Regions from separate parts of the Homo sapiens genome. Here regions 1, 2, 3, 4, 5 and 7 are each linked to region 6. The links are contacts of gene promoters, found by promoter capture Hi-C in blood cells and fetal thymus (Javierre and others, 2016). All regions are on one chromosome and are shown on one strand. The core of a region is centred on a gene start or on the middle of the fragment in contact, and the rest is flanking DNA. Distances in the headings are between cores, read along the strand shown. Region 1 has its middle 13 kb from the start of LALBA. Region 2 overlaps OR5BS1 (olfactory receptor family 5 subfamily BS member 1). Region 3 overlaps LOC124902928. Region 4 holds the start of RAPGEF3 (Rap guanine nucleotide exchange factor 3). Region 5 overlaps KANSL2 (KAT8 regulatory NSL complex subunit 2). Region 6 holds the start of CCDC184 (coiled-coil domain containing 184). Region 7 overlaps ENDOU (endonuclease, poly(U) specific).

The links. The method cuts DNA at HindIII sites, captures the fragments that hold promoters and counts their contacts. A CHiCAGO score of 5 or more calls a contact.
Region 1: a contact is called between a fragment that was not itself captured here and the fragment with the promoter of CCDC184 in region 6, in 3 of 17 cell types (M1 macrophages, megakaryocytes and erythroblasts). The highest score is 7.0, in M1 macrophages.
Region 2: a fragment that was not itself captured here is called in contact with the fragment with the promoter of CCDC184 in region 6 in 1 of 17 cell types (M1 macrophages); the score reaches 5.7 in M1 macrophages.
Region 3: a contact is called between a fragment that was not itself captured here and the fragment with the promoter of CCDC184 in region 6, in 1 of 17 cell types (M1 macrophages). The highest score is 5.1, in M1 macrophages.
Region 4: a contact is called between a fragment that was not itself captured here and the fragment with the promoter of CCDC184 in region 6, in 2 of 17 cell types (fetal thymus and naive B cells). The highest score is 7.6, in fetal thymus.
Region 5: a fragment that was not itself captured here is called in contact with the fragment with the promoter of CCDC184 in region 6 in 2 of 17 cell types (megakaryocytes and erythroblasts); the score reaches 5.3 in megakaryocytes.
Region 7: a fragment that was not itself captured here is called in contact with the fragment with the promoter of CCDC184 in region 6 in 11 of 17 cell types (fetal thymus, naive CD4 T cells, non-activated CD4 T cells and 8 more); the score reaches 19.6 in fetal thymus.

The regions. Positions count from the first base shown.
Region 1 is chr12:48,580,684-48,584,416 of GRCh38, forward strand. No RefSeq gene overlaps it. Among named protein-coding and RNA genes, the nearest start is that of LALBA, 13 kb to the left of the region's middle. The HindIII fragment of the contact is 3,177 bases long and covers 1-2,981 here.
Region 2 is chr12:48,562,505-48,566,531 of GRCh38, forward strand. It overlaps OR5BS1 (olfactory receptor family 5 subfamily BS member 1), which reads left to right. Exons shown (of 2, transcript NM_001396061.1): 2 at 290-452. The coding sequence ends at 452. Among named protein-coding and RNA genes, the nearest start is that of OR5BS1, 4.6 kb to the left of the region's middle. The HindIII fragment of the contact is 6,527 bases long and covers 1-4,027 here.
Region 3 is chr12:48,636,786-48,640,569 of GRCh38, forward strand. It overlaps LOC124902928, which reads right to left. Exons shown (of 1, transcript XM_047429953.1): 1 at 1,525-3,784. Among named protein-coding and RNA genes, the nearest start is that of SNORA2C, 16 kb to the right of the region's middle. The HindIII fragment of the contact is 3,272 bases long and covers 49-3,320 here.
Region 4 is chr12:47,755,937-47,759,884 of GRCh38, forward strand. It overlaps RAPGEF3 (Rap guanine nucleotide exchange factor 3), which reads right to left and starts at 2,944. Exons shown (of 28, transcript NM_001098531.4): 1 at 2,615-2,944; 2 at 1,930-2,142. The coding sequence starts at 2,620. It also overlaps a transcript of SLC48A1 not described here. RefSeq lists enhancers at 2,155-2,823, 2,824-3,492 and a silencer at 2,764-3,113. The HindIII fragment of the contact is 222 bases long and covers 1,562-1,783 here.
Region 5 is chr12:48,661,479-48,665,397 of GRCh38, forward strand. All of the region lies in intron 7 of KANSL2 (KAT8 regulatory NSL complex subunit 2), which reads right to left. Among named protein-coding and RNA genes, the nearest start is that of SNORA2B, 4.2 kb to the right of the region's middle. The HindIII fragment of the contact is 205 bases long and covers 1,802-2,006 here.
Region 6 is chr12:48,181,991-48,186,184 of GRCh38, forward strand. CCDC184 (coiled-coil domain containing 184) reads left to right here and starts at 1,654. Exons shown (of 1, transcript NM_001013635.4): 1 at 1,654-3,936. The coding sequence starts at 2,133. The coding sequence ends at 2,717. The HindIII fragment of the contact is 3,853 bases long and covers 1-3,249 here.
Region 7 is chr12:47,708,686-47,712,789 of GRCh38, forward strand. ENDOU (endonuclease, poly(U) specific) reads right to left here. Exons shown (of 10, transcript NM_001172439.2): 8 at 3,831-3,937; 9 at 2,948-3,090; 10 at 1,049-2,234. The coding sequence ends at 2,117. The region is part of intron 1 of RPAP3-DT (RPAP3 divergent transcript); the gene reads left to right. Among named protein-coding and RNA genes, the nearest start is that of RPAP3-DT, 4.6 kb to the left of the region's middle. The HindIII fragment of the contact is 7,938 bases long and covers 1-4,104 here.

The sequences.
Region 1 (3,733 bases), core at 143-2,642, 400 kb after region 6:
TAAAATGAGATTTGGAAACCCTGTGGAAATGGGCTGCCATTCTCCCTGACAGTAACATGACCATGGTATGGTGCTGTCTCTGATACATAGAATACATGAACCTGGGAACCCAGGAGTAGACATAAAACTGCCCTGTTCACCGTCACTCCTAGTGACCTATTTTGGGAATCTGTACTTCCTGTCCCTGTCACGTTGAGCTCTATAGCTAAGAGATATTAGTTCTCAGTTCTAGGAAACGTAGTGGGTGTCCCATTAAACTTTAAGCTACAGCTGCAGCTTCACGTTTCTCATGCTAAGAGACTAACAAGCATGAAAGACTCACTATCCCGGAAGGGATGACTAACCCTAATCATCAAAATTAGCGATGAAGAATATGTTTGGCATCCAGGTGATCCATTGTGGTGTCTCTTGGCACTTCCTTGCCCAATTTTTTTTTTTTTTTTTTGAGACAGAATCTCACTCTGTCACCCAGGCTGTAGTGCAGTGGCATGATCTCAGCTCACTGCAACCTACACCTCCTGGGTTCAAGTGATTCTTGTGCCTCAGCCACCCAAGTAGCTGAGATTACAGGTGAACACCACCAAGCCCAGCTAATTTTTGTATTTTTAGTAGAGACGAGGTTTCATCATGTTTTGGCCAGGCTGGTCTCAAATGTCTGACCTCAGGTAATCCACCTACCTTGGCCTCCCAAAGTGCTAAGATTACAGGCGTGAGCCACCATGCCCGGCCTCCTTGCCCAACTATTTTTTTTTTTTTGAGACGGAGTATCGCTCTGTCGCCCAGGCTGGGGTGCGGTGGCACGATCTCCGCTAACTGCAAGCTCCACCTCCCGGGTTCACGCCATTCTCCTGCCTCAGCCTCCCGAGTAGCTGGGACTACAAGCACCTGCCACCATGCCCAGCTAATTTTTTTGTATTTTTAGTAGAGACGGGGTTTCATTGTGTTAGCCAGGATGGTCTTGATCTCCTGACCTCGTGATCTGCCTGCCTCGGCCTCCCAAAGTGCTGGGATTACAGGTGTGAGTCACCGCGCCCGGCCCAACTTTTATTGTAAATTATAAACTCAGCAATTACAACCTGAGAAGGGAAAGGTAACCAGGCTTTCAGAACTTTAAGGATGAAGATCTGAGTCAGACCACAAGGTAAGCCACTAGACTAGCAGCAATACCACTCTAGAATAAGAGGAATCTAGAATGAGTAGTAAGGGACAGGTGCAGCCTAGAGACCAGTTGCAGCAGTGGGAGCTGTAATTAATTCCACTGTTAAATGAAATAACAGAGAGAGACCTTCTAAAAGAAAAAGGTATTTATTTGGCAATAAGCCTTTGCAATGGGAATACATATGCCATAATAAACTATGTATATATTCAGGGAGGTAAAGGAAGACAAAAGTTTTTAAAGGAAAAATGAGGAGGATTATACACAATTGTTTTGAAATTATTGGCAGGGCATGGTGGCTCATGCCTGTAATCCCAGCACTTTGAGAGGCCAAGGTTCAGGCGGATTGCTTGAGCTCAGGAGTTTGAGACCAGCCTGGGCAACATGGCGAAATCCTATCTCTACCAAAATACAAAACATTAGCCAGGCGTGGTGGTGCGTGCCTGTGGTCCCCGCTACTGAGGAGGCTGAGGTGGGAGAATCTCTTGAGCCCAGGAGGCGGAGGTTGCAGTGAACCAAGATCACGCCACTGCACTCCAGCCTGGGTGACAGAGCGAGACCTCACCTCAAACAAAAACAGAAATGAGATGATTATCCTTGGCTATCAGGGTCAATAACAAGGGTGACGCCAGTTCAAGGCTGAACAGACAGTTGCTGGGCAAATGCCTTTGCAGAAGTATTTTTTGTGTAGGTTGCAATGGACTTTGCAAGGTTGTGATTGTTGCCATCTCTTGGGATAGTTCTGTTATCAGGCATACAAACATGAGAACCTTTCTGACAACTTTCACACCACTAAACTTCTTTCAATTTTCCCCATGAAAAGACATCACCAAAATCCTGAAAGAGCTACTCCCAGAGCATATGCAAAGCAAGTGGGTCCAAGCAGCACACAAATGGATTCCAGTGGATGCTACAGTGCACCAACCAGATTCCCTCCACCCCTTTCAGGATTAAAGCAGTGGTTCCCCCAGCTGCTAGGAGAGCTATCTGCTGATAGCACTCAGGTGAATCCCAATCTGAAAATTATTCTCAAAAGGAGAGCCCCTTTGCCTCAGTGAGAGACAAGTCTGCAGGGCCATTTCAGCTCCACAACTCCCCACAAGATTGGCTGAGCACTTTGTTGTGACTGCACCAGAGCACAGCTTGTCCCTGTCACCAGTCCTACTTCCTTCAGCCTCCCACCACCCCACCCCACAAACACACACAGATGTTGATTCCAAAACCACTGTCCAATCAACTTGTACACCAGTCTCCATCGCAGAATGTTTCTCAGGGGAGCCTGACCTGTGACAAAAGATAATCACTGCTTTGTGGAGTTAGATATTCAAAATTAAAATGATGGAAAATAGAAGCATGTAAGTTGGGCAATATTTAGAGTGAAAGTTTCCTAAGGCCTTGCATTCTATAGGGAAATAGTAAAGATAGTAATTCACTTCAGAGTTTATTAAAAGTGCATTATCAAAATTTTCAGGTAAACTAGTAAAATAATAGAAAAACAAAGATTCCAAACCCATATAGAAACAAAATAGAATAAGAAAATAACAAACAAAAAATAGGACTAAAATATCACAAAAGAACTAAAAAACAATAACAGAAAGGTATCTGGAAAATCCCCCCCAAATATTGGGAAGTTAAAGGACATACTTCTAAATAACTAATTGTCAAGGAGGAAACCTCAAGGGAAATTAAGAAATATTTTAAGTGGAATGAAAATGAAAATATAACATATCAAAATTTGTGGGCTGCAGCTAAGGTAGTGCTTAAAAGGAAATTTATAACATTAAATGCCTATATTAAAGAAGAAAAGTATCAAATTAGAAATCTAAGCTTCTACCTTAGGAAACTAGAAAAAAAGAAGAGAAAATTGAACTCAAAGCAAGGGATTAATCTCTCAATAATTGATAAGACAAGATCAAACCAGTCAGTATAAGATTTTAACAATACAATTAATAAATTTGACCTAATAGATGTATATACAACATTATATCAAATAACTGCAGAATATACATTTTTATAATACAACCAGGACATTAGAAATTGTGAACTTAGCAATGTTTCAGACTTAACATCAGTGACTCCATCTTAGGCTACCGACTCCATGTTGAACTGTTTGATGAATGTTGAGACCCACAAAGGAACTATGAAACACGTTTCCTTCACAAACAACCATACTCTTAACAATATACAAGACAAGGAAACTGGTCCTTATCTTTAGGAACACTCTATATGAAATCACCTTTGCAAAAATTATGACAGTGAGAGAAATCTTACATAGCTGACTCCATCCTGCTTCTAACCTTACAAGGTGTCTTTATTCATTCCCGGTGTAGGCCAAGCTAACTATGGGAGCTAAATATATATCCCTAAATGCAGAGGATATTTAAAAAGAAAAGCTGAAAATTATAGTCTAACTTTAGAGACACACGCACAGAGAGAGAGAGAGAGGCTTGCTCTGTCACCCAGGCTTGAGTACTGTGGCACAATCACTGCTCACTGCAGCCTTGACCTCCCGGGCTCAAGTAGTCCTCCCACCTCAGCCTCCTGAGTAGCTGGGACCACAAATGCGTGCCATCATAC
Region 2 (4,027 bases), core at 842-3,341, 380 kb after region 6:
CAATATTAATTCTGTTCTAACCTGCAACATTTGATATGCTGCAGAACTGCTTGTTCCTCGGGGCAGCTCCTATAACTTTCTGTGTGAGCTCACTTATGTTTGGAAGTGTTTGAAGGCAGAAATGACTGACTTTTCACAGATCAGCCATTTCTAGATGCTGCCACCAGAGAAAGTCAGCTCTGAAGACCTCCTTTGCAGAGTCTTTGCAGGGAGGGGATGAATTATTGCTGCCAACAGTGAGAATTGTCACCATTGTCATAAGTTGCTTTTCTGTACAATTCCCTTCAAGGTATATGATTCCAGCATCTGGCTCAGCCCTAGAACAAGTGCTCTCCGTGCAGTACAGTGTGATAACCCCCCTGCTGAACCCCCTCATCTACAGTCTGAAGAGCCAGGAGGTAAAGGTGGCTCTGAGGAGGATGCTGGCCAGGAAGTCCAGGCTTCCCTTGTAGCCCAGCGTCCCTGCCTCAGCAGGAGGAAAAGTTATGGGGAAAAAAGGAGGGAGGAAGAGCTATCACCACTCAGCTACCTCAACATTCATCTCCTTCCAAAACAGAGACCTTAGTTTATCTTCCTCCAATGCCCTGTTCCCAGCCAAAGGCAATGAGGAAACTCTCACAGAGCAGGTAGCACCCATCAGAGGGGGTCCAGTCATTATACAAGAAAATCCTCAGGGCATCCAGGGCATCCTGGCCATTTCTACAGCTAATACTTTTTCCTCTCATTTCTTGCCTTTTTGACCCCTCTTCTTCCTGCCTCTCCCTCTCCCTTTTACTTATGTCTATGCACAAAAGGTAAATCGACCTATCAGACCACTAGCAAATGTCCTTCTGCATTCTGGGATAGTCCCATCTTGGCACTGTGACCCAACTCCTCTTTTGTTCTCATGCCAAAAAGTCCCTGGAAAGATCTACATCCCATAACAACTTAGAAAGAAGTCAAATAGGCCGGGCATGGTGGCTCACACCTGTAATCCTAGCACTTTGGGAGGCCGAGGCGGGCAGATCACAAGGTCAGGAGATCAAGACCATCCTGGCCAATATGGTGAAACCCTGTCTCTACTAAAAATACAGAAATTAGCCTGGTGTGGTGGTTCATGCCTGTGGTCCCAGCTACTCGGGAGGCTGAAGCAGGAGAATTGCTTGAACCTGGGAGGTGGAGGTTGCAGTGAGCACTCCAGCCTGGCAACAGAGCAAAACTCTGTCAAAAAAAAAAAAAAAAAGAAATCAAATAAAATAAGAGTGTCTCCTCCTATCTTCATCCTTAACAAGTAGCAGCTAAAGTAGAGCCTAAGCCATGTGTGGTGGCACATCCCTGTAGTCCCAGCTACTCGAGAGACTGAGGCAGGAGGATCTCTTGAACTCAGGAGTTTGAGGCTGTAGTGTGCTGTGCTCACACCTGTGAATAGCCACTGTCCTGTAGACTGGGCAACATTGTGAGACCCCATCTCTAAATAAACAAATAAATAAGTAAAGTAGTACCTAGCAAACAGCATATCCTCAATAACCACTTGGTGACAAATCAAGCAGTGAAGGAAGGAATGAATGTGGATCACCTGAAGTCTTTTCTCTTGCATGATCCCAGGAAATGGGAGGAGGGGAGTATCCCCCTCTAAAGTATAAGGGTCTTAAGAGAAAAACCTCTAATAGCTTCTGTATACCCAATATCTAGTACCTCCTGTCACCTAATAGGCTCTTAATTAGTGTTCAATAAATGAAAAAAATGAATGGATGAGAGAGAAGGAGAAGTGGGAGAAGAAACATGAAAAGAAATATTTGGGGCCGGGCATGGTGGCTCACGCCTGTAATCCCAGCACTTTGGGAGGCTGAGGTGGGCGGATCACCTGAGGTCAGGAGTTCAAGACCAACCCGGCCAACACGGTGAAACCCCAGGTCTACTAAAAATACAAAAATTAGCTGGGCATGGTGGTGGGCACCTGTAACCCCAGCTACTTGGGAGGCTGAGGCAGGAAAACTGTTTGAACTTGAGAGGCAGAGGTTGCAGTGAGCTGAGATTACGCCACTGCACTCTAGCCTGGGCAACAGAGAGAGAGACTCCATCAAAAAAAAAAAAAAAAGAGGCCAGACACGGTGTCTCACGCCTGTAATCTCAGCACTTTGGAAGGCTGAGGAGGGCGGATCACCTGAGGGCAGGAGTTCAAGACCCACCTGGCCAACATGGTGAAACCCCGTCTCTACTAAAAATACAAAAATTAGCTGGGCGTGGCAGCGCATGCCTGTAATCCCAGCTATTCAGAAGGCTGAGGCAGGAGAATCGCTTGAACCCAGGAAGCGGAGGTTGCAGTGAACCAAGATCGTGCCACAGCACTCCAGCCTGGGCAACAGAGCAAGATTCCATCTCAAAAAAAAATAAAAAACATTTGATTTTATCTAATGCAATTCCTGTCTTCACAACAAGATAGGTGTCAGGGAAAAGTAGCAGGGAGGAGAAAGCAGGATAAGAGGAGAGAACAAAACTCTGTATTGCTGTGAACCATTTTGAGTCTTTCTCACACAGAGCTCAGTAAATGGTCTGCTCTCTGAGAGCCACTCCCTGGAGCCTACCCGCTTCCCAATTAGTCTGGATGACTTCAGACCTTTGCTTGGCTTAGAGCTTCATTTTAGGCCTAAGGGAAAGAGACAGAGGTAGAGAAAGCAGAACCGATGCTCAGCTGCCATGCTGCCTCCTATTCAGCTCTCAAGAAAGTTCTCAGGAAGAGAACAGCAGTTTCCTGTCCTGCTTCTACCCAAATGCCAAGAGAACTGCATCTATCAAGCCTGCTTCTATGTCCAAAGAAAAAGAAAAGTAATCATGTGAGGCGATGATATGTTAATGAGCTTGACTGTGGTGATCATTTAAGTGTATACATATAACAAAACATCAAGTTGTACACCTTCAACATATACAATTTTTATTTGTAAAAAAGGAGGAGGAGGAGAAGGCGAAGAAGACTACTGGCATGTATGTCATGAAGCTGATCCAGCCATACCTCACTGGATAAAGGAGGCAGTGTATAGATTTATTGATTCATTTTCTCAAAAGAATTCTTAATTCAGTGGACACCATATTAGACATTGAAATTTAAAAAATGTACAGGCCAGTCACTGTGGCTCACACCTGTAATCCCAGCACATTGGAAGGCCGAGGTGGGAGTTCAAGACCAGCCTGAGCAACATGGTGAAAGCCCATCTCTACTAAAAATACAAAAATTAGCCGGGCATGGTGGCAGGCGCCTGTAATCCCAGCTAGTCAGGAGGCTGAGGCAGGAGAAACGCTTTAACCCAAGACGTGGAGGTCTCAGTGAGCCAAGATCGTGCCACTGCACTCCAGCCTGGGCAACAAGGGCAAAACTCCATCTCAAAAAATATATATACATAAGCTAGTGTGGGGAAAATAAGTACAGACTAGGAACAAGAGAGAGTTTGCCTGAGAATTCCAAATGCAGACCCCAAATGCCTTTGGTAGTGTTGCTTGTACCAAAGAACATGGCATTTTGTTTGTTTATTTGATTTAATACATGGATTATTTTACAACTCAACACACTACAATTGAACTGAATATAAACACAGAAAAACTGCTCTGTAGTACTAGTACAGAGTAGGCATCTATAAACATTTGTATCATAACCCACTGTAACAAATGAATAATTGAAAAAAAGAAAAAGATGTCTTTCCTGCCAGTTCCCTGGCTTCTATCTGTTCTTGATCTTCTGACCTCAGGCTGAGGTTCTCTCTACAGATAAATCTCTTACTGTCAATTCCTTCAGCAACAGCTCCTGAAGATCATGAACTCATATACGGTGTACTTGCCCACACAGGTGAACTTTCCTGTCTTCTCTGTGGGATGAAGGCCAGGGCTGTGGAGCTGAGCAACAATGCGAATGTCATTCTCAGCTCATTCAGAGTGTGACAAATTAAACTGTAGTTTGGAATGCTGGATTGTTAAAGCAGGAAGTGATCTCAGAAAACTATCTAGACCAAAATCCTTATTCTAAGATGAGGAAACTGAGGCACAGAGAATGGAGATG
Region 3 (3,784 bases), core at 435-2,934, 450 kb after region 6:
GAAGTAATGCTTTGATCTTCCACTGTATTATTTTATTGAAAGCCAATAAGCTTTCTTTATTAGGAAGGAGATGCTGGGCACGGTGGCTCACGCCTGTAATCCCAGCACTTTGGGAAGCCGAGGCAGGTAGATTATGAGGTCAGGAGATTGAGACCATCCTGGCTAACATGGTGAAACCCCATCTCTACTAAAAATACAAAAAATTAGCCGGGTGTGATGGTGGGCGCCTGTAGTCCCAGCTACTCAGGAGGCTGAGGCAGGAGAATGGCGTGAACCCGGGAGGCGGAGCTTGCAGTGAGCCGAGATCGCGCCACTGCACCCCAGCCTGGGTGACAGAGCAAGACTCCGTCTCAAAAAAAAAAAAAAAAGAAAAGGAAAGGAAAAGAAGGAAGGAGATTAGGAAAGATTAGGCTTGTTGCTCTCATTTTTGTTCCAGCAACACTGACCTCACGGTTAAAGGGGAAAAAAAGAAAATCCTTGATTCCTTTGCTGATGACTACGGCCAAGAGTAGGGGAACTTTGAATAGAAACTTCACCAGAGACACATGGATGGCAAATAAGCAGCTGATGAAAAGCTGCTCAACTCATTAATCATTAGGGAAGAGCTAATTAAAACTACAATGGAATATAACCACACCCATTAGAATTGTTAAAATTTTAAAAAGGCTGACCATATATGTGTCCCTCCAAAATTCACATGTTGGAACCTAATATCTAATGTGATATTACTAAGAGATAGGGCCTTTGGGGAAGTGATTAAGTCTTGAGGGCTCCACCCTCATAAACTACTTAGTGCCTTTATAAAAGAGGCTTCAGAGAGCTGCCTGGGCCTTCCTTCTCTTCCATGTGAGGACACAGCATTAGTCCCCTCTTGCCCTTCCACCTTCTGCTGTGTGCCGATGCAACAAAAAGGCACCAACTTGGAAGCAGAGAGCAGCCCTCACCAGACACTGAACCTGCCATCATCTTGATCTTGGACTTCCCAGTCTCCAGAACTGTGATAAATAATTTATTTTATTTCTAAATTACCCTATCTGGCCAAGCACAGTGGCTCACGCCTGTAATCCTAGCACTTTGGGAGTCTGAGGCGGGCGGATCAGAAGATCAGGAGTTCAAGACCAGCCTGGCCAGCATGGTGAAACCCTGTCTCTACTAAAAATACAAAAAATTAGCTGGGCATGGTGGCGCACGCCTGTAGTCCCAGCTACTCAGGAGGCTGAGGCAGAAGAATTGCTTGAACCCGGCAGGCAGAGGTGGCAGTGAGCCGAGATCACGCCATTGCACTCCAGCCTGGGCGACAGAGTGAGACGCTGTCTCAAATAAATAAATATATAAATTACCCTAAAGGTATTTTGTTATATAGCAGTACACTAGACTGAGACCCTAGACCCAAAAAAATGCATATTATATAATTCCATTTATATAAAACTCAAAAAATGTAAACTAATCTATGTGACAAAAAGCAGAGTAGTGATTGCTTTGGAATAGGGAATAGGAATGGGAGAGAGAGGAACTCAAGGAAAGTTTTGGCGTGATGGATATGCTTACTATCTTTATTGTGGGGATGGTTTCGTAAGTGTATATATGTGCCAAAAGGTATCAAGTTGTACACTTTAAATAGGTGCAATTTTTTGTTTGACAATTATGACTCAATAAAGCTGTTAAAAAATAAAATTGGTAACAGTCAACCACAAATAAGACAATAAAATATAAATCTCAAAATTGCTCTATGGCTAAAGAGAAAGAGGTTTGACTAAAACTTTGAGTTATATCCAATGAATGTGGAATAAACACATTACAAGAATATGAACTCATATGGGGCACAACGTAAAAATTATCTCATTGATGAATCTATTTGCATTCTTATGCCAGCTCTTCCATTAATTACTTAGTGCTATGAGTTGAATCGTGTCCCCCAAAGAATGACATGTTGAAGTCCTAACCCCCAGTATCTCAAGAATATGACCTGGAAATAGTGTCATTACAGATGTATTAGTTTGGTGCAAAAGTAATTATGGTTTTTGCCATTTTTAATAATTAGTTAAGATGAAGTCATACTGAAGTAGGGTGGGCCCCTAATCCAATATAACTAGTGTCCTTATAAGATGGCCATGTAAAGATAGAAAAACAGAGAGAACTCCTTGTGACAATGAAGACAGAGATTGGAGTTATGAAGCTGCAAGCCAAGGAATATCAAAAACAGCCCACAAACCAGCAAAAGCTAGGAAGAGGCAAGGAAGAATTCTTTCATTCCTACAAGTTTCAGAGAACATGGCCGTGCCAATACTTTCAGCCATCTAGTCTCCAGAACTGAGACAAATTTCTATTGTTTTAAGCCACCCAGTTTGCTGTTTTGTTATGGCAGCCTTGGGAAACTAACACACTTGGTGTTACTGGTAAGTAGTTAATATTTCTAGGCCTTGATTTCCTCACTTTTACTTAAGAGGGTTGGACCAGATTATATATAAAATTACTTGGGAAAATTCATTAGTCTCTTATGACCTGGCTGCCTCATCTGTAAAATGGAGATAATTATATAACAATGCCTGGCACATGCAAGCACTAACTGTAAGCTGATAATTACACAAACCAGTAATAGCAGTAGTGACTCTTTCAGTTCTGGCAATCTATGGCCTATAACCAATCCCAAAGGATATGAGGTTTATATGTCCAGTGAATTCTAGAAACAACAATTCAACAGGAAGAAAAATACCCTACAGTTTTTGGATGAGGGCAAAATAAGGAGTCAGACAACCAGAAAGGAGTCCTAAATAGCTGTGACAAAGGGTCAGACACAGGAAGGCAGGCATTCTCATAGCAGTAGGTCCTTCCACTTCCTCCACTACTTTACATTTCATGGTAAGCCCATCCCAACTTTACCCGAGCCCCTCCAGGAGTGAGAACACTCTCTCCCATACAGGTTCCTGCTGCTAAGTGGCTCACCCAGTCTGATCATGGTACCACTTTTATTAGATTTTTCTACTAATTATTCAATGCAAATATACACCAGGCACTACACAGGAGAAGGGATACAGCAGGGAGTAAAACAGTAAGTCCCTTATTACAGTTCTAGAGTCTAAAAGGGGAAACAAACATTAAACAAATAATTTTACAAATACTCATATATTACAAATGTGAGGGTACTATGAAGACAAAGGACAGAGAGCACATCCACGTCAGGGGTCAAAGGACAACTCCCTGAGAAAATTAATTCTAAGATGAAACCTGTAGGATAGGTAGAAGTTAACCAGGAATAAGTGTCAAAGATAATTTGGAGGAAACAGGCAGAGAGGAAAGGTATGTGCAAAGCTCTAAAGCAAAGCTTTCCACATTTGTGGAACAGAAAGAAGTCATGAGAGATAAGGCTGGAGAGGTAGGCTGGAGACAGACTGTGTGGCCATCATAGCCCATAGCAAGGAGTTTGATCTTCACCCTAAGTTCAAGGGGGAGTTACTGAAGGGTTTTTAAGCAAAGGAGTAATAGAAGATTTGCATTTCCCAAAGATCACTCTTGCAGCAGTGTGAAAAATAGGTAAGAGGGGTAGGTATGGCTATAAGGATATAATGGAGTGCTACTGTAGCCTTTCAGATGAGACGATTCAATGTCATAGATTAGGATGGTTGTAGACTTGGAAAGAAATGGTTAGAGAAATGCATTGGTAAAATGTGATTGGTGTCAGGGACCTTGGGATGCTGCTTCCAGCAGCTCAAAACCCCACCACTGAGATTCTGCTGAACAGAATTCTTCTGGAGAATGAGAGCCAGACATGTTAGCCAGGAGAACC
Region 4 (3,948 bases), core at 423-2,922, 430 kb before region 6:
CCCAGAGCCTCTCAAATATAGGCATGATGGAATGAAACCTCCCCACCCCAGTCCCCAAAGTTGGTCATCAGAAGAGGGAGTGGCCGCCTGCCTCTAAACACTAAAAATCTAAGTTCCCTCTAGTCACCAACGCCCACCTGGCACGGAAAGGCCTTGTTTTGGTGCCTTTGACCCCATTTACACTCCAGCAACCTTTACCCCCACCTTTCTGGCCTTCCCCTGCACACCAGCCCTTCATTTCTGGGGGCTGTGGAGAGTCAGGAGACAGCTTGGTGGCCTCCTCCACTCCCTCCCAGACTTCAGGTCCCAGGAGATCCTCCAGTGACCTATTGTCCTGGCACCTGACCTTCTCCCTACCCCCTACCTTGCTTCCACAAGCTGGGAAGGGGACAGGAAATGCACAAATAATTATAGCCCAAGAGGGAAGGAGGGAGGGAGGGTTCCAGCCCACTGGCTCCAGGCAATAGCTACAGCCAGTGACCCGGAGAGCGGAGAGCCGGAGAGCCAGAGGGGTAGCGGAGGAGGACCCAGGCTCATGATAAGGAAGACCCTAGTAGAGAACAGCTCTACCAGGACTGACATGTGGACTCTCCTCTCAATTCTGATTGCAAAGAGGAGCCCCTCATCTTGGTAGGTCTCAGTTTTTTCAACTCAGCCTCACTGTAAATGGCAGTTGGGCAAGGTAGGGGGAAGGAGGGAGAGGGTGGTGGTTATTCCACTCAAAAGGACTTGCCAATAAGAAGTGAACTCTCGGCTAGGCGCAATGGCTCATGCTTGTAATCCCAGTGCTTTGGGAGGGCGAGGTGGGCAGATCACGAGGTCAAGCGATCAAGACCATCCTGGCCAATATGGTGAAACCCCATCTCTACTAAAAATACAAAAATTAGCTGGGCGTGGTGGCGCACACCTGTAGCCCCAGCTACTCAGGAAGCTGAGGCAGGAGAATCACTTGAACCTGGGAGGCAGAGGCTGTAGTGAGCCAAGATTGCTTCACTGCACTCCAGCCTGGTGACAGAGGAAGACTCTGGTTAAAAAAAAAAAAAAGAAAGAAAAGAAAAAAGAAATGAACTCTCCCGGCCAAGCGCAGTGGGTCACGCCTGTAATACCAGCACTTTGGGAGGCCAAGGCAGGTGGATTGCTTGGGCCTAGGAGTTCAAGACCTACCTAGGCAACATAGCGAAACCTGGGTGGACACACGCAGTGGAGACATAACTGAATCTCAAGCTAAGCTACTCTATTTAGTCTGGATGGTTGGGGATAGCTTCTCTGCTGATTTGGATAGTACAGCCATTATCTTGCCTCCCAAATCCCACCATTCTTTCCCCTCCCTGCTCTCTCCTTCATTCTTTCAGGTCCAGAGATGTTTCTCACTAGCAAAGGGCACTTTGGTGATCTCAGATTCTCCAAATGTCTCAGAATCCTTCCCTGAGCCCCCCAAAGGCAGGTACCAAGCAGTGTCCACATGATCACCTCACCCTAAGACCAAAACGCAGAATTAGCACAGTTCAGTAACTCACTAAAGGAGAATGTTGCCACGGTGATGCACCCAGAACTGTAACCAAGCTTACCTCACTCCAACCCATTGACCCGGCCCCCATACCTCCCACCTCCACCTGGAAAGAACACACAAGTACCTAACTCAATGCCGGCTCACTGAGGTGACAGATAAACAACAAATCCCTTTCCCCTTCCCCCCATGCCCAAACAGAGACATTTGGGCAGAACACACACACAGACACACACACGTTGCAGCTGTGTGAGCCACCCACGCACACTGCAGACAAGCTTCCTGACCCAGTGTCCACGGCAGCTGTACCACTGTACACCCCCAGAGCAAGCTGGGCCACCAGCAGCATGCCAAGCCATGATCTAGGCCCCCCTCTAGCTCTGGTACTGGCCCTGGCACCTGGGCAGGTGAAAGGTACTCACCCAGCGCAGCCCCTGGATGCAGCTCGGACGCTGGTGCTCCAGCAGCAGCTGGTAGGAGCAGCTTCGGGGCCGGTGCATCCTTCTCAACACCATGTTGAGTAGTGTCCCCTCCGGCACCACGTCAGGGAGGGCTCCCACCCGCGGTGCTCCCAGAGCTGGGCTATCCTCCACAGCCAGGCCCACCTGCCAGCAGCTCTCACCTGGCCAGCCCACCTGTGACACGGGGAGGAAAGTGGACAGCCATGGGACACGACTGGGGCGGCTGGGCCACAGTACAACTGCCCCAGGCAGAACTACTTCCTTAGAGTCCTCTGGACTGGTCAGGCGGAGGTGCTGCAACCCTGCCAGGAGCTGGGGGGAGGAACAGGAAGACCTTCACTGGGGCCTGCCGGTCTGGCGCACTTAGGGGTCTCCAGCTGGCTCTTGGAAAAGATCAGGCCCTTCTTAGTCCTCTTTGGAATTCTGTCCCATCTCACTGCCCATGCCCCTGCAGGGATCTCCACTACCTCCCAGTATGAAGCTATAGATTCACTAGGTCTCCCAGAAATGCAGCTTCGGCTTAAACCCTTCTCCTCTCCTCCTCAGCCCTGACTAACCCTCCCTCTCCCACCCAAACTCCCCACCGTGTCAGCTTCCTCTCCCGCCCTCTCCTGCTCCTCCTCAACCCTGACCCCACCTTACCCACCTTCATGTTTCTTTTCAAGCTCGCACAGCCGTGCAGGCTCTAGCAAAAGGCTGGGGGGTCCCCAGCGACCCCCATCAGCTTTGATAAGGGGATCCGGAGGGTGCCAGTGGGTAAGTCCAGGTACAGTGAACTGGGCCAGTGCCTAGCTGGACTGGCTGCCAGGGCAGCAGGATGCAGGGCTCGGTGGAGAGGCTCCTCTTGGGTGAGTAGAGGGGTGGGGGCGTGGTGGGGGGACGCCACCCAGCCACCGGCGACAGGGAGCCCCGAGCCTGCGCCTTCGTCTCAGACGAAGGAGCCAGCTGGCACCGGGCGCTGAAGCAAGGCTGCGCTGGCACCGGTCCGGGCGGGAGCTGTCACACCCCCTGCGCTGCCCGCCCCCTTCCCCTCCCCAGGACTGGCGGAGGGGGCGGGGTGGAGGCGCCCTGCCTTACGGTAGAGGAATGCGTAGGGGAAGGGGGCCGGCACTGGCAGGCTTTGGAGTCCGCACCCGGGGGTACCAGAGTGGACATCCGCCTGAGCCCAGAGTATCCCCAGGGGGCAGGAGCGGCCCCGAAGTGTGTGGAGGAGGCCGCAACGGCCGGGGTGTCAGGGATCCGGCGGTGAGTGGCTGCACTGGCCGCCACGTGGCCGGGAGGAGAAATGCAAACAAGGAAACCGGGGAGAGCGGGGAGGGGGTGAGTCACTGCGGCCTCACCCGGGAGGGAAATCCGGGCTGGGGCCGCTTCCCGGCTGGGGGTGTCTGCCTCCTGTTTCGGTTCAGGGTCTCCAGCCGCCCGGGGGAGGGAATAGGCGGCTTTCCCGCGGGGAATCCCGCTGCCTTGCCTCCCACAGTTCCGTTCCCAGACCCACGCCCCACTGCCCCCTGCCCCAGCACACACACACCGGGAGCAGTTGAGGAAACTGAGGCTGGAGAGGAAGGACTGCTCTCCAGAACGGGTAGGGGCCCTAAGAGGAGATTGGGGTTGTGGCAGAGCTTCCAGGGGAGCAGAAGGTGTTCGAGTACCACGCCCCCTACCGCGCGCTCCCTGGTGGCCGGGTAGGTTGAGGCGGAGACCGGGCATTCCAGCGCCCTGCTAGGCAGGCTTGCTACCGAGGCTCCACGCCTCCCTGGGCCTCAGTTTCCACCACTGTGCAAATGGCCCAGCGCGGGCCTCTTCGCCCCACTCCTGAGAGGGTGGAGAGACAGTGGCCGGGGACAGCGACCCGTAATTCAGGACGATAATGAGGGTTTGGAAGGAGGTGAACGCCCCACCCCCAGCTTTTTAGGACTTTTTGCCCCTTCTCTTCCCTTTTCCCTTTGCTGTTGAGCCAGCCCAGACTGGGAAGAAGTATCT
Region 5 (3,919 bases), core at 654-3,153, 480 kb after region 6:
CTGTTAACTACCTGGTTATCTTCCTAGATTAATAAACATTATTTTAAAATTTGACTTATTTTTAACCAGAAAACACAATTTTTCTTAAACTGATAGTACCTGAATTATGGAGTTATAATTTTCAACTCAAAACTTTTATGGTAATTTTTTTAAATAAAAAAACTAACATACATTATAATTTTTAAAACCATATGAACTTCCTTGAATAAAGCTATTTCTTTCAATGCATACTTGGAAATAACTAAACTCTCAAGCAGGGTGTGACAACTGTGGCACTACCAACACTGTAGGCCAGGTACATCTTTGTTGGAAGAAGGATGTATAGCAGCATTCCTGGCCTCTATCCACTAGCTGTCAGTAGCACCTCCATCTGAGTTGTAACAACCAAAAATTTCTCCACACATTGCCAACTGGAAAACAAAATGGCCCCCAGTTGAAAACCACTACTCTAAAGAAACAGAAGATAGTACAAGGCAAACAAATATTTATTGAATGATCAAATGAATAAACATATGAATCTAATGGGAATCATCAGATTTGCACTATGCGCTTAAGAAAATCTAAGCAATATCTAATGTGCTTAAGAAGCCCACTCTTAATATTTAAAATATTATCCATTAAATGTTTCAACCAGAAATTTTTTTTACACGAAGTCTCGCTCTGTCACCCAGGCTAGAATGCAGTGGCGTGATCTCGGCTCACTGCAACCTCTGCCTCCTGGGTTCAAGAGATTCTCCTGCCGCAGACTCCAAAGTAGCTGGGATTACAGGCACCTGCCATCACACCCGGCTGATTTTTATACTTCTAGTAGAGACAGGGTTTCGCCATGTTGGCCAGGCTGGTCTCTAACTCCTGACCTCAGGTGATCAGCCCGCCTCAGCCTCCCAAAGTGTTGGGATTACAGGCGTGAGCCACCACGCCTGGCCAAGAACTTTTTTTTATTGGAATTCAAAGGACTTTCACAAGTCTCTTATGTATTTAATACCACAATATCCTAAAAAAGGACTCCCCCCATCATCCTCCACCCGCTTTCCTTTCAGATGGGGCAAAAGAGGTAAAAAGAAGGGAATGGTTAACCTACAACTAGAGTCTGGGTCCTTCACTTTCAGTCGAGTGCTGTCTCCATTAGACCACAGTAAAGAGTTAACAGGTCACCAATGGCAGTCGCATCTTTCTCTGGGATAAGGACTTAAGGAAGGGTAAGTGACTTAGGCAACTATGGAGTGGAAAGGAAAGAGCATAAAAGGAAAAAAAATACTTCCCTTCTCTTTTCAAATACATTTTCAATTTTGCTTTATATTTATATTTTAATAAGCTATTTGACTACAGTATTATAATATCTAAAATAGTCCTTAGTATCTGTAAACTGAGTTTTTTCCCTTATAAAAGTAATTCATGCTCGCCTTAAAAAAACAAAAAATAAAAGAACAGTGAAAAAAGGGCATTCACAACCACACCATGCACAAATTATCACATTTCTGTATTGTTCCCTTCCAGTATTTGGTTTCATGCAATTTCAGACACCGTACAGAATTCCATATCCTGGAATGTCACTATCATTTTGCTGTCATTCATAAATTCTGTTAAATATATTTAATGCCTGAAAATATTCCACACTATGTTGTGTCATTAATTTATCTACCTATTCTCCAGCTCTAAAAATGTTAAGGCTGTCTCAAGTTGGAAGAATATTTCATGTAAAAATATTGGTCTGCATTTGATTATCTCCTTAAAATAAATTCCCAGAGGTAAAAATTACCATATGAGGAAATATGAATTACTGTCAGATTGCTTTCCAAAAAGCTTTTATCTATTTATATTCCCACTGGCAATATTTAGAAGGGTCAATTTCACCATACTCTCACCTACTTTTGAAATTCACTGACTCATTTTTGAAAAATTGTATATTTTAAATTTTATTTTAAAACAAATATATGTACAAATATCAATTTTATAGATTTTTAATTTTCCTTATTTCCTATTTACAGTTGACCTTTAACAACACAAGCTTGAACTGCACGGGTCTACTTACACGTGCATTTTCTTCTGCCTCTGTCATCCCACAGACAATAACACTTCCCCCTCCACTTAACAAAAAGACCATGAGAATAAGGACCTCTATGATAATCCACTTCCATTTAATAAACAGTAAATATATTTTCTCTTATGATTTTCTTAGTAACACTTTTTCCTAGTTTATTTTAAGAACACAATATATAAGACATATAAACATATAAAATATGTGTTAGGAAGCTATGTTGTTGATAAGGCTTCTGATCAACAGTAAGCCATAAGGCTATTAGCAGTTAAATTTTGGGAGAATCAAAAATTATATACAAATTTTCAACTGTGTAGGGGGTCAGCACCCTAACCCCATGAATTGTTCAAAGGCCAACTGTATTTATAGTGAAGATACACACTTTTAACTATTAGCCTTTTTTTTTTTTTTTTTTTTTTGAGACAGAGTCTCACTCTGTCGCCCAGGCTGGAGTGCAATGGCACGATATCGGCTCACCGCCTCCGCCTTCCGGGTTCAAGCGATTCTCCTGCCTCAGCCTCCCGAGTAGCTGGGATTACGGGTGCCCATCACCACGCCTGGCTAATTTTTGTATATTTAGTAGAGATGGGGTTTCACCATATTGGCAAAGCTGGTCTCGAACCCCTGACCTCAGGTGATCCACCCACCTCAGCCTCCCAAAGTGCTGAGATTACAGGTGAGAGCCACTTTGCCCGGCCCTATTAGCCTTTTCTATCTTCTTTTAAATCTGCCCATAGCCTCTGCCCAATTATGTTTTAAGCAATTTTTTTTTTTTTTTGACACAGAGTCTCACATCTGTCGCCCAGGCTGGAGTGCAGTGGCGCAAAACCTCAGCTCACTGCAAGCTCCGCCTCCCAAGTTCATGCCATTCTCCCACCTCAGCCTCTTCAGTAGCTGGGACTACAGGCGCCCACCACCGCACCCGGCTAATTTTTGTATTTTTAGTAGAGATGGGGTTTTGCCGTGTTAGCCAGGATGGTCTCGACCTCCTGACCTCGTGATCTGCCCGCCTCGGCCTCCCAAAGTGCCGGGATTACAGGCGTGAGCCACCGCACCTGGCCTTTTTTTTTTTTTTTTTTTTTTGAGATGGAGTCTCACTCTGTTGCCCAGGCTGGAGTGCAGTGGCGTGAACTCCTCCCACTGCAACCTCCACCTCCCAGGTTCAAGCAATTCTCTGCCTCAGCCTCCCAAGTAGCAAGGATTACAGGAACCCGCCACCATGCCTGGCTAGTTTTTTTTGTATTTTTAGTAGAGATGAGGTTTCACCATCTTGGCCAGGCTGGTCTTGAACTCCTGACCTCGTGATCCACCCATCTTGGCCTCCCAAAGTGCTGGAATTACAGGTGTGAGCCACTGCGCCCGCTTTTTTTTTTTTTTTTTTTTTTTTAGAGACAGGGTTTTCCTCTGTCACCCAAAGTAGAATGCAGTGGCATGATCCTCACTTCAGCTTCAAACTCCTAGGCTCAAAAAATCCTCCCAGGTAGCTAGGACTACAGTCACATGCCATCGTGACCAGATAATTTTTCTTTCTTCTTTTTCTTTAGAGATGAGGTCTTACTGTATTGTCCAGGCTGTAAGCATTTATCTTTAGAGTTTTTCATTACTTTGCACAACCATTTTATATATTAAGAACAATAATCTCTTATCAGACATCTGTTGTAATTAATAAATTAGTAAAATATTTAATAAGCAAAATAAAAATCAGCTTCCTGTCAAAAGACTAAGAAGAGGTTCTCCTTCTCCTCTCCCTATTAAAGAAAATAAGTGGCCGGGCGCTGTGGCTCATGCCTGTAATCCCAGCACTTTGGGAGGCCAAGGCAGGCAGATCACAAGGTCAGGAGATCGAGACCATCCTGGCTAACACGGTGAAACCCCATCTCT
Region 6 (4,194 bases), core at 404-2,903:
TGTTTTGGGAAATCAAATTTTTAATGGCTGCATAATACTTTATGTATCAGCAATTTTGCCTTAGTTTATTTAAACATTCTGCTGCTGGTCATTTAGGATAGTCCCCACTTGTTTCTATTTTAAAAGCAGTAAGATTGGTATAGGTCAAGCAGTCCTCTAGTGTCACAAAACTTTCCCTGGGCCAGCCTCACTCTTCATCACCAAGCACATAACCAGGGAAACCCAAAGGTAACACATTTGCTGTCACTGAACCGCCAGTCTACAAAACACTCACCTTTACGTAGTTCTTCTCTATCTTGAAGTGATATAGTTTGTTTCTCTTTCCCAGATTTATTCTTATGAACTTCATTTTTGGCTTCCGATCACTTGGCTTCCCTAATTTCCTAGGGTCATTATTAATTATTGTGCTCTGCCCAGGTGCTGATTCCTTCTCAATCTGCAATCATCTACGTATATTAAAGACAATTTTTCTTCTTCCTCCACCCTTCCTGCTCCACCCCTTAAATAGGGAAAGGGCTTGTCACAAAGGTTGGGGATACTCAGTGTATGTCTGAACTTGGGCACTGAAAGAGAGAGCGGGAATTACTCTAACACACAGTCCCCCCATCCATACCCTCCACACAACGGTCAACAGTTTACCTTTTCACCTGTGAGATGATGCAGACTGTTATTCAGAATTAGAAATAGTATTATAGATTATCCAGTCCAATTCCCTAACAGATGAGGAAAATGATGTGGCCAAGGTCGCTGAATGAATAAGTGGCAGAAACGAAACTGAATTCAGGTCTCCTAAAACCCACTACGTTTGGCTTGGGGAGTTCTGGATGAGAGCGTGGGACTTGGTGGTTTTTGTTATTCATTCAATAACTATATTAAGCATCTACATACTAGGTGCCAGGCACTATTTTAGGAGCTGGGGATTCCGTGATGGAGGGTGCAGGGGAGACAAAAATCTCTCCCCTTATGGAGCTTTCATTCTCAAAACTTAAGCACTTGGCCTCCCCATCTGGGACAAACTCCCAGAGACCTGCGTAGGAGCGGTAGGGTCTCATAAAGGAGGGAGTCCCATCCTTCCCCCGCTCCGGTGATTTCTATAGCTAGAGGGCTGATTTACTGCAGAAACCTCCGTAGCGCCCTCCTCCTGCCTCTGCACCGTCAGGCCCGGTGGGTCCGGCTCCAGAGCGCCACCGTGCCCCAGCTCAACTCTGGGATCATTAGCAACAGCCTCTCTACCCTCTCCGCTTTCCTGCGCATCGCTGGAGGACAGGGAGGCAGGACTCGACTTTAGCGCCATCCTCTGAGAAAGGAATGCGGGCTGGAAAAATCTTTCCAGGGCAGTCTCGCTGGGTCTCATACCCCGGCTAGGGGAGGGACGATCTCTCCCGGACTTGGAGGTTTCTGCAGCAGACGGCTCTCTCATACTTCCCTATTAAACATTGCGACCACACGCTCTTTCCAGCCTTGGCCGAAGCCACTGTAGCGTCCCCTCTCCTCCCCCCACCCCGCTAGTCCAGACTCCAGAGCCCCACTGCAGCTTCCAGCCATCCTCCCTTTTTCTTCGCCACTTCCTGGTTACCATGGAGACACACGTCATTTACGTGCCGTGCGTCGCCTTGGAAACAGAGGAGCATCCGCGACACCCCCGGGAGACCCACCCCAGCTGCTGCTGCCACACTCGCGGGCGCTGCCCGGTAATGGCCTGGGGGAGTCCCGAGTCCGACGCGCCGCTGGCCTCAGCCTGGACGCGGACCCCTCCGCGAGCGCGTCTGTGACCCACGGAACCGGCAGGCGCTCTCTGCTTGTGGCGCCCAGAGGGCGGCGCTGACACGGGCGCGATCCGGGAGGCGAGGCAGGGCAGGGCACTTTCGTCCCGGGGCGATCCCAAGAGACGCCGGCTCTGGGACCCTCGCCGGGTCCTCGTCCCGCAGCCTCTTCTCGGCCTCCCGCGATCCTGCCTGCGCCCTCTGCCCAGGACTCGTCTCTCACGTCGGCTCCCCGCCAGTCTCGGGAGCCTCCGCTTCCCTCGGCTCCCGCTAGCCCCTCCCGGGACCTCTCCCCCTCCACCCCCTCCCCCACCCCGGAGGCCGGGCTGGACGCGACCCAGAGCCTCCGCCACCCGCTTCTGCCACTCAATGGAGGACGGTCTGCTGGAGATCATGACCAAGGACGGCGGCGACATGCCGGCGCCCCTGGAGGTGTCCACCGTGCCGGCAGTGGGGGACGTGATCTCCGGGGAGTACAACGGCGGCATGAAGGAACTGATGGAGCACCTGAAAGCCCAGCTGCAAGCCCTGTTTGAGGACGTGAGGGCCATGAGGGGGGCCCTGGACGAGCAGGCCTCGCACATCCAGGTGCTCTCGGACGACGTGTGCGCCAACCAGCGAGCCATCGTCTCCATGTGCCAGATTATGACCACTGCGCCCCGCCAGGGCGGCTTGGGCGTGGTCGGCGGCAAGGGGAGCTTCCAGAGCGACCCCCAAGAGCCGGAGACTCCTTCGCCTGGGATCGGGGACAGCGGCTTGCTGGGTCGCGATCCCGAGGACGAGGAGGAAGAGGAAGAAGAGAAGGAGATGCCCAGCCCCGCCACACCCTCCAGTCACTGTGAGCGCCCCGAAAGCCCCTGTGCTGGTCTCCTTGGGGGGGACGGGCCACTTGTGGAGCCCCTCGACATGCCCGACATTACCCTGCTGCAACTGGAGGGCGAGGCCTCCCTGTGAGGGGACTCCGTGGGGCACTACCTTCCCGGGCTGTCTTTGGGTTTCCGAGTGCATGACGCGAGGGGGACTGAACGGCGCGGTGCGGCATGCTTCACTTGGACAGCTGCTCTTGTGGGTCAGGCAGAGAGAGACTCCCTCGAGGAAGGATTTGTAGGGTGAAGGACTTTGGGAGCATCGAGAATTCTTTCTGCCCAACTAAGCGAATTATAGCGAACTGCGGAAAGGTGAGGCTCCGGGAGAGGAAGCGCCCATCTCTGGACTCCCATCCATCCCTATCCTGTCCTTTCCCCCTTCCCAGACAACAGGAGAACCCGTGAATTGTGTAAATAAAATTCTGCTTTTTCTATTCTGAAAAAGGACTTACCTAGGACCATGGCAAATAATCTCTAACAATTTACCTGGAAATTAAGGAATTGGGGGTATTTTGTTCTGGCAACAGGAAATTTACCCTTCTGCTGAAATCCAAGATATTCAGTGCTCTGCAGAAGCCTCTCCCCCTCACAGATCTCTGCGGCTGCTGATTGGTAAAGGAAGCTTGAGGAGGGAACTGCAGCCCTAGGAATCTGGGTGAATGGGGTTCCAAGGGCCCCTGGGCTGGGAGGAGCTGGCTATGAATGTGCATGAAGACATAATAGCTCAACCTCTAGGATTTTGCATGCAGAGCGGATCCTGCCTTGTCACTGACTTCATCTGGGATTGCTTTTCCACTCCCTGGGGCTTAGAGAACAAAGAGCCCGGTTCACAGGCAGAGACTCGGGGGTGCTCAGCAGCAGCCCAGATTTAGGGGACATTTGAGGGACTCTTGGGGCCGCAGCCAAAAACTGTCTCTCCTGGCTACACCTGCTTAACTTCAGTTCCTTTTTCTGTCAATATGTCCTTGCCCACTGCCTCTCGGTGTTGCCTTCATAATGTCTTGTGTGTGTTATGTGTGTCTACTTGTGTAGTAGTGTGTGAGCCCTCAGGGGCAGGGCTTGTGGCTCTGGTGTTAGGTTCAGGGGCTTCAGACCCTTCTACGAGCTCCAAGCTATCAATGGCGCTTTTCTCTCCCTCTTCCCCCAACCAGGGCATGGAGCATGTGGCTGTCCTGAGGTTCTTTTACTGATGTGCCGCCCTTCCACCTCCTCAAGTGGTGACTTTGTGTGCCCTCCCCCTCCTTTGTGTATTCCTTCTCAATGCTTTCCTTGGTGTTAACCTTAATAAAAAGGCGTCATCTCCCCTCCTTGCTGACTGGTACTAAGGGGATATCAGGGTGGGTCTTAGTGGGAACTGCAGGGGCCATGCCTTCCCTCCTCTCTCCTTGCCTCCAGTTCAAGGAGTTGACTGTCCCTGCCCTGGTTGGGACAGGCATTGCCAACTCTCCCTGCTTTCCCTTCTGTCCTGGACCTTGACCTCAAGCTGCCCTGGGGAAGGAGGTGGTAAGTGTTGAGACTCCCATGCTAACATGAGTTTTTAGTAGCCAGAACTCCAAATGTGCAGG
Region 7 (4,104 bases), core at 246-2,745, 470 kb before region 6:
AGAGTGAGAAAATGAATATAAAAGGACTACTTAGCACAGCTTGGGACATGGTAACAGCTTAACAAATGTTAGTTCTTACCTTTCTCTCCTGCAAAGCTAAGGCCCAGACCCTGGAATACAGTACTCTCTCCTGCATTTCTGTCTTTCTGTCTCCTACTGGACTACCTGGAAGACCTCTGAAGAGGCCTATGAAGAGCACAAGTACTGGGCACCAGTAGGTGAAGGTTAAGGCTGATAGCAGGGATAGTAAATTGCCTCTCCCAGTATAAAATTAAATCTGTATAATAAGTGAGACAATAATTACTATAAGAAAGACTAGCATGTTATTTCACATTCCTTATCTCACAACAATGGTAATATTATCCCCATTTGACTGGTGAGGAAACAATCTGAATAATTAAGAAATTTGCTCATATGGCCAGTAAGCAACAGAGCCTGGCTAGGTACCTGGGCAACATGACTTCAGAGCCTGTACCTGTTACCCCTGTGCTCTACTGACTCACTGTCTTGCCTATTGACTGTGAACATCTCTGGGAAAGGGCAGGACAAGGCCCTGTTTCATCTATCTGCAGGCTATAAACTTGCCCGAGGTATCTCTTCATACCTGACCGTTTTCTAGCATTGTGGCTTGAGTAATCTGTTTACAGATAAGAAGTCTTTTTCTGTATCTCTTTAGCATCTCCTCTTCCCCCAGTGTGGTCAACCTCTGCAACCACAGAAGCTACATCCAGAAATGTCCTTATACTCCTGTGTATTTGATAAAGGGGACTGGTTATTGGGGATGGGGACCACCAATCTCCATTTACCACCCCCCCACCGGCCGCCTCACTATCTGTATGCAATGATCCTTCCACTCTTCATATTACAGAATTCTCTTCCCCTCTTGGCTAGAGAGACTTAGTGAGTCAACAGAGACTTCACCCAGATACCACATTCTTCAAGCCATTCTGAAAAGACTCTAGAGCAAAAGTATCACTGCCAGCCCTGCTCTAGGGAAAAGGCAGGGAGACAGACATTGGAGGGAGGCCATATACAAAGAAGACACTCATTTCAAGTTTTCTTCAATGACTTTAATTGGAAACTTGAACCTTCTAAACCATAGTTCACACCCGGCTCTGTGGTACAGCATTTAGTTCTCAGTGGGGTTGGGGGACAAATGCATAATTGAGGTTAAAATAGGGAACTACAGTCTCTCTGGTCTCGTAGAGTTATTCAAATTATGGCTGCTGGATAAGGCTTAAAATAATTATGTTAATGACACCAAGCTATGGGTTCCTTCTTCTTCTGATGCTGAATCATCCTCCTATGAGGAGAACTCTTTCAAAAAAAAATTGGGGATCAAAATACAAGTCTGTGGCTGCACTAAACATCCACAAGTGGGAAACTTCTTGTTGCAGATACTGAGCTGGACACAAAAACACTCAGGCCTGGAGAAGGCCACCCCACCCCCAGCCCATTCACTGCACCAACCTATTACCCTTCTCCATTCAGCATTGGAGTTCTCCCAGACTCTGTTCTGAGAGGATCTAACTCTGGAAAAAACCAAAGGCCCTTGCTTGATTACTGTGGCCTTACTTCTTTGAGGACCCCAACACAGGGCTGAGTGGTAGTTTACAGAGCTGTGTATAATAACAGCCATTATAGTAATCTTGAATTTCTATCAGCTGTTCTTCCTAAGAACAACTGAAAACACCTTCACAGTAAAAATATCAGGGTTTGCCCTCTCACCAACCCCAAAAAGAGGAAAGTGGGCAAACCCCTTCCCTTTACATTAAAGGGAAGCATGAGGCCTGGTGAGGTCAAAGGACTTCTTCCTAGTTCCCCCACACATCAGGGCAGAGAGCTATGGAGGGTTCCTACCTTCTCTGCTTGGACTCTGTTTCTTAGTCAACATTGCCAAAATTCTAGAGGATAAAGGTTTGACTGTTTATCCACATTTTTCTAATTTGTACATTTTATCTCTTTCCCATGTGGGCACTTTGGGATTTAGGAATGCTTCTCATTGCTTTGAGATTTGGTGATCCCTTCCAGTCCTCTCCCTCTTCTCTCTAGTCCAGAGAAGATAGCACTTCAGTCTCGCAAGAGCCCTCATGCCCCTTTCTGGCTCGAAGTTCTATTAGGTGGAAGACACTATGTAGGCTGTGGCGATGTACTTCTTGCCATTCCCATAGGTGGACTTGTCCCAGGTATATGTCCGGACAGCTAAGGGATATCCTCCCAGGCTTAACTGGCACCTGTGGGGAAAGAGCCTGAAATCAGAGGAGCTCCCCACTTCACGCTGCCTCTCCCTGGGCTGGAAGGATCAAGCCCAACTGAAGCAGAAGGGCTCCATTCTGCTTAAACAGCCTTAAAGACAGAGCTGGCACTGCTTTCTTCAGCAGCTGCCTCCAGCTCCCCATGTGCAAGGAGCCATTTCAAAATCTTTGCCTTATTTCTTGTCTTCTTAAAGAATGCTGTTCCTCATCTTTCCCAGAGCAATATTCCAAAATCCCAGATTCTGGAGGTGAAATCCTTAGAAATTAAACATTTGCTTAGGGTTTCAGAAGTGGAAGAACTCAACGTGTCCGAATGTTAGAGAACTTGAAGCCCAGTGGTTCCTAATGGTACTTTCTGGAGCTCTAGGTTCCCCTAAGTAGCCTCAGGGGACAAATAAAGAGGCTGAGAGCTCTAGGACAACTCCATTTCTATTTCATATATTAAGGTCCTGCGTAAGATTTCACTTTGGGGGAATGAGGGGAGATAATTTTGCTGCTAAGATGAAGTTTGGCAGCCACCAAACCAATCCAAAAACTTAATTGTTCAAGCAAGAGAACTGAGGCCCAAAGCACAGATTTGTCCAAGCCCTCTCAGCCTCTTTGTGGCAGAGTCCAGGTCTCTTGACTCTGTGATGGCTGAGGACAGCCTGCAGCCCCAGTCTGCCCCCAGGCCTGGCTGGCCCCATTCTTACACTTTGCCTGGCCTGGCGATGAAGCACAGGGAGTAGAGTGCAAACTCAAACTCAGGGCTGCTGCCGATGAAAGCAGAGCCCACTTCCTTATAGTAGCCGTCCCAGTTGAACTGCATTGCCAGCACATCGGGGTAAGAATCCCACTGTGGAGGGAAGGGCAGAAAAGGGGGTCTGGTGAGTGCCACAGAGTGGAGTAGAACGGGTGCCCAATGGCAACAGTCAGACAGTATTTGTTGAGGGTCCATTAGGGGCCTGTGTGAACCTTCCAGGGAGACTGGATTCTTTAAATAGAAGAGGCAGTCTGCCTTGCTAAGGTGTCTGAGCCCACCCGGACCCTCTGCCTGGAGCTGCCAGTGCACATCTACCAGAAAGGCCAAAATCACTATCCATAGGATCCACCTCTGGATATCAAGGATATCACTGTTCCCAGTGGCCCTCACACATGGAAGAGAAGGATCGTTTACTGCCCCCAAATTATTTCCTGGTACCGGGCAGCAAAGGTTTCTGTCTTATAAAGTGTATGAAGTTTAGCTCAAACTAGCCAGGCTGAAACTTTCAGCCACGTTCTAAGGAAACTGAGGCAGGGAGTAATTACATATCTTTGTTCTTCCCTCTGAGAATCCTCCCCAGGCCCCAGGCTCCCACCCCGATATGGTGCCTCCTGCCTCCTGTCCCCTGCAGTTCTAGAGCCTTCACTGTTTGGAAGGGAATTCCAGTGTCCTGGCTGGCTAAAGTGGCTGTCTAGCAGGTGAGGACGTGATAGTCACAATCACCTGGGGCTGCCCCCTGAGAGTCAGGCTGAGAGGCAAGTCGACAGTTTGGAACACAGAGTGAGAGCAGGATATCTGGGCTCTGACAAGGCTTTTCTAGTCCGTGTACTCACAGGCCCATCGTAGATGTGACTGTAATAGTCAACCAGACCCTCCTTCTCCTCCAGGTAGAAGCGGATCCAGTTATGGAAGCCAGTAACCTTGCCTTTTTTTACCTCACCTATAATAAAGAGTCCAAGATGGATAATCTGGGCTCCTTCCCCACCCTCCCCTCCAATCCCCTTTCTCCACCCCATGCCAAGGCTTCCCCCTTCTCCAGTCTCTGACTTCTAGCTGCTTGACCCCTTGCTGTGAGTCCCCAGAGTCTCTCACAGTCCTATCTCTCAC